2 separate regions of the Homo sapiens genome follow, and region 1 is linked to region 2. Evidence: promoter capture Hi-C in 16 types of primary human blood cells and fetal thymus (Javierre and others, 2016). All regions are on one chromosome and are shown on one strand. Each heading gives the region's core, a stretch centred on a gene start or on the middle of the fragment in contact. The rest is flanking DNA. Distances are from core to core; before and after follow the strand shown.

What was found. The method cuts DNA at HindIII sites, captures the fragments that hold promoters and counts their contacts. A CHiCAGO score of 5 or more calls a contact.
Region 1: a contact is called between the fragment with the promoter of OR52M1 here and the fragment with the promoter of TRIM21 in region 2, in 3 of 17 cell types (M2 macrophages, M0 macrophages and monocytes). The highest score is 8.8, in M2 macrophages.

Annotation. Positions count from the first base shown.
Region 1 is chr11:4,543,891-4,546,590 of GRCh38, forward strand. It overlaps OR52M1 (olfactory receptor family 52 subfamily M member 1), which reads left to right and starts at 1,301. Exons shown (of 1, transcript NM_001004137.1): 1 at 1,301-2,254. The coding sequence starts at 1,301. The coding sequence ends at 2,254. The HindIII fragment of the contact is 8,356 bases long and covers 839-2,700 here.
Region 2 is chr11:4,392,370-4,395,069 of GRCh38, forward strand. TRIM21 (tripartite motif containing 21) reads right to left here and starts at 1,333. Exons shown (of 7, transcript NM_003141.4): 1 at 1,264-1,333. RefSeq lists enhancers at 1,224-1,433, 1,454-1,513. The HindIII fragment of the contact is 6,932 bases long and covers 1-2,700 here.

The DNA.
Region 1 (2,700 bases), core at 51-2,550, 150 kb after region 2:
TACAGCAGTCACCCTCCCAAGCACCACAGCTTCCTGGAGATAGACATTCCAGAGTCTTTTGAAGTTTGAACATTTTTGGCTTTGCATGTTAGTCTCAACAGAATAAAGAACTAATGCTTAGTGTTACTGTCAGGCCCTGCATTTTCATTTAGTCATGACAACTTCTCTAGGCCATGGCTTTAAGTTTGTTGCAAAGTGTAGTTAGTTGTATTTCACTAATGGGATAAAGCAGTTCACCTAAGCTCTCACTGCCAAGATCTGAAGACAGATCTAGAAAAGTCCTAAGCCCAGATTGCTGACTATTCTGTAATCAACCTAACTAGGCTTAAGATGTACTGCATTAAACTTCTTACACGCTCCTCACCTTTCGTATTCCTCTGATATATAAGGAACACATTCTGGTATAGTCTTTTAGACAAAGATTTAAAAAAAAAAAATCAGACAACACATTGTTTTCATGTATTTGCTTTAAATTGACATCTTTTTAGTGAGTTGCTCTGGACTTCAAGTAAGGGTGTTTCATGGCCAAACATTTGTCTTAGGCTTCATGCTACTCTGCACTGAATGTCTTCTTCCTCCCTGCTGATAACCCTCTGTTTCTGGAGCCTTTTCTTCATATTCAGTCTTCATGAAGGGAGGAGGCCCTTGCCAGGCTTTGCCTTTGGGTATCAAATACGCATAAACTGAGCTTTGGTCAGCTTTCATCTTTCAGAAATCACTTTGTTTCTATACCCTCTGGAAGGTGTCATCTTTACCACCCCAAGTCTCTGCCTTGTGATTTTGGCCTGCAAATTAGACATTTCAGCTCATCCAGTAGTCAATTCTGGTCCCAGGCTTAAGCTTTGGTTTACCATAGAGCCTAGATAGTCCCAGGTGTCTCTGACCCTCTGACACTTCAGTGCATCTCCTTTTCTTTCAAGTAGCTGTACACTCTAAAACCTTCCAACATGATCTCAAGCACCACCTCATAGCCTACCTGCAGTGGTAAATGACCAGATAGTTATTTGCTTTAGGTCAGTTCATTCACTGATGCAAGAATATCACTCCTCGAAGGTCATACTGCAAAAAGATGTATTTCATTCAAATGAGTGTTTTGGCTTGTACTTTCTAAGATTTTGCGAACATTTTAGTATAATGTGACACTGACGTTCTAGAATTTCTTCTAAAGATGACTTATCTAACATCTAGTCAGTGACCCTATTATTATAGGAACTTAGAGTAAAATATTGTCTTTTATTTCCAGGAAAAACATCCTGCTGCGTTTAGTGGTACAAGTGAGAAGGTTCACATATAAATAGCCATGCTCACTTTTCATAATGTCTGCTCAGTACCCAGCTCCTTCTGGCTCACTGGCATCCCAGGGCTGGAGTCCCTACACGTCTGGCTCTCCATCCCCTTTGGCTCCATGTACCTGGTGGCTGTGGTGGGGAATGTGACCATCCTGGCTGTGGTAAAGATAGAACGCAGCCTGCACCAGCCCATGTACTTTTTCTTGTGCATGTTGGCTGCCATTGACCTGGTTCTGTCTACTTCCACTATACCCAAACTTCTGGGAATCTTCTGGTTCGGTGCTTGTGACATTGGCCTGGACGCCTGCTTGGGCCAAATGTTCCTTATCCACTGCTTTGCCACTGTTGAGTCAGGCATCTTCCTTGCCATGGCTTTTGATCGCTACGTGGCCATCTGCAACCCACTACGTCATAGCATGGTGCTCACTTATACAGTGGTGGGTCGTTTGGGGCTTGTTTCTCTCCTCCGGGGTGTTCTCTACATTGGACCTCTGCCTCTGATGATCCGCCTGCGGCTGCCCCTTTATAAAACCCATGTTATCTCCCACTCCTACTGTGAGCACATGGCTGTAGTTGCCTTGACATGTGGCGACAGCAGGGTCAATAATGTCTATGGGCTGAGCATCGGCTTTCTGGTGTTGATCCTGGACTCAGTGGCTATTGCTGCATCCTATGTGATGATTTTCAGGGCCGTGATGGGGTTAGCCACTCCTGAGGCTAGGCTTAAAACCCTGGGGACATGCGCTTCTCACCTCTGTGCCATCCTGATCTTTTATGTTCCCATTGCTGTTTCTTCCCTGATTCACCGATTTGGTCAGTGTGTGCCTCCTCCAGTCCACACTCTGCTGGCCAACTTCTATCTCCTCATTCCTCCAATCCTCAATCCCATTGTCTATGCTGTTCGCACCAAGCAGATCCGAGAGAGCCTTCTCCAAATACCAAGGATAGAAATGAAGATTAGATGATTACTATTTTCTTCTCTCTCAAATAAGCTCATGGAGAAGGTGTTTAAATATGGTAGGCTGCTTCCCATTAGGAACTTTACAAGCAGTTTGAAGTATTAGGCACTGTGCTCTCCAACTTTTGTAGTTCCAAAGGAATTCTAAGAAAGTATACAACTCTAAGTCCTAAAAGGTGGAAAATACAAAACTTACAACTAAAGGATATTTGAGCTACAAAGAAGGTAAACCAACCGTGATAACGACAAGCTGCTAATATTTAGCATTGTTCATGTAATTCTTGAAAATATCCTGACATGAGGTATTATTGTTTATATTTTATGAGGAAATAGGACAGAACACCCTTGCTTTATGAACTACATACAGTTACTTAAGCTGCCTAGCTCCACATTTGGTTGGAATTTGTAATACATTGTAAAGTTATGTATTAATACTTTCTATTCTTTGTTTTC
Region 2 (2,700 bases), core at 83-2,582:
CAGCCTGACCAATATGGTAAAACCCTGTCTCTACTAAAAATACAAAAATTAGCTGGGAGTGGTGGTGGGCACCTGTAATCCCAGCTACTTGGGAGGCTGAGGCAGGAGAATTGCTTGAACCTGGGAGGCAGAGGTTGCAGTGAGCCAAGATTGTGCCATTGCACTCCAGCCTGGGTGACACGGCGAGACTCCCTCTCAAAAACAAAACAAAACAAAACAAGGCATAAAATTAATGGCAAAACAATTAATGTCAAAAACAGTAATTACTTTTGCACCGATCAAACAGTTTGTTGAATAAGTTTATTCCTGTTCTGAATAACAAGAACTCCTCCATTGTTTGGTCCATTGATCCAGTGAGACAGAAGGAGAAACTGAGTCCCTAAAAGAGGGAATGAAAATTGGCAAGAACCTCATAAAGCTGTTGACAGTTCTACTCTCATCATGTCCATTCCTGCTTAAACCCTCAGTGCTCATCCATCTCCTGTCGGGTACCAACAGGCCTCCATGTTGCTGAGAAATTATAGCTACTTTTTACCATGTACCTTCCATGTGCCAGAGATACTTCATGCTTTGAATATATCTTCATTAATCCCTCCTATAACGGCGGAAGTCAGTTGCATATATGTATGTAGGTGTATATGTATGTATACACACAGAGTAACAGGAACCGTGGCCAGCACTCCCTGGGCTCTTTTCTCAGCTGCTCCAAACTTAGTTTAGTTCCTGACAACACTTATTCTAGGACAAAGAATAATTCTGAAGGCCTATACATTTCTGGTTGAACATCCTAAACAGCCTGCCCCTCTCACCTCTGGAGGACTTTTGGACCTGGGAGTCTCCAGAATTGCAGACCTCCCCGACACTGGGCTCCCTACCCTCCTGGCTAGGCTGTAGTCCTGGCTATCCCAGCCACACCCAGCCGTCATCCTAGGTCAGGTGCCAGCATGGGGGCAGCCGGGCCCCTTCCCCTTCTGGGTAACTCCACAGTCACGTCCACAACCCAGCCTCCTCCCAGGTAGGGGGCAGCCGGGCCCCTTCCCCTTCTGGGTAACTCGGCAGTCAGGTCCACACCCCAGCCTCCTCCCAAGCAGGGGGCCAGCACCGGAAGCGCAGCTGGTCTTGGGTTGAGGGATCCCTGGTGGGAGAAGGGGCAAATGGGACCGGCTCAAGGATGGAGACTGGAAGGGGCTCTGCAACCCTGGGGCAGGGGAGAGAGGTCCCCTAGGAGGGCAGGGGTCCCTTGATCTAGTGGGGTTCACTCACCTTTACAGGGGACTCAACGCTGGTAGCCAGCTCCCTATTTCACTTTCAGTTTCCGCTCAGAAGCAAGTCTGAGAGGAAAGGGGAGGGAGGAGGAGGAGCCGTGGGAGGAGTGAGGGAGGAGCAGTGGGAGGAGCAGAGCCTTGAAAGGGTGTGTGGAGAAATGCGGCTGAGAAGAGAAGTCAGAGTTGAGCTGGGGGAGGCTTCAGAGGCTCTGCATGCCCAGGAGGCTTCTCTGAGACTGGGAAGGAGTGGAAACTCAGTAGCCCGTGGTCCTGGTTGCGCGCTCCCTCCCATGTCTTCATTATCTGATTTGGTAAAATATCTACAAGACGGGGGAGTCCGGGCTGCTTTCTTTGACACTGGTCATCACTCCACACCTAGACGCTATGTCCATGTCTGGAAGATGCTTTTAAGGAAGTTTTGATGCAGAGAAGAGTGGCCGGTGCTCTTCCTCGCGTGCCACCATCTGCTTACTTCCAGAAGCTAATTATTTTCATGTGACTGATGTGACTAATATTTTTTAACGCCTGCAGGTGAGTGATTTATTTCGCATGACCCCAAGGTGAGTGTCCCACCAGTGAGTGGTGAGAAGGAAATTGACATTTGACAACCAACTGTGTTCTTGTCACTGAGCTAGGGACATTCTCAGGTTATATTATTTTTATTTTTAATCGTAAAAATATAGAACATAAAATTTACCAAAGTAATTTTTTTAATTTTCAATCTTGTGTGTCTATAGTAGGTGTATATATTTGTGGGGTACATGAAATATTTTGATACAGGTAGAGCATACAATCCGTAATAATCATATCAGGGTAAGTGGGGTATCTATCCATCACCTCAAGCACTTATCATTTGTGTTATATACAATCCAGTTATATGCTTTTAGTTATTTTAAAATGATAAATTATCATTGACTGTATTCACCTTGTTATGCTATAAAATACTAGATCTTATTCATTCTCTCTCATGTATTTTTGAACCCATTAATCATTCCCCACTACCCTTCCCAGCCTTTGGTAACCATCATCCTCTCTATCTTCATGAGTTGGATTGTTTTAATTTTTAACTCCCACAAATAAGTGAGAACATAACAATTTGTTTGTTTGCCTGTGTTTGGTTTATTTTACTTAACATAATAATCCCCAATTCCATCCATCTTGTAGCAAATGAAAGGTTCTCCTTCTTTTTATGGCTGAATAGTGCTCCATTGTGTATGTGTACCACACTTTCCTTATCCATTTATCTGTTGATGGACACTTACGTTGCTTCCAAATCTTGGCTATTGTGAATAGTGCTGCGATAAACATGGGAGTGCAGATATCTCTTTGATATACTGATTTCCTTTCTCTTGGATATATACCTAACAGTATTTCTTCTGGGTATATACCTAGCAGTATCCAGTAGGATTGCTAGATTACATGGTAGCTCTATTTT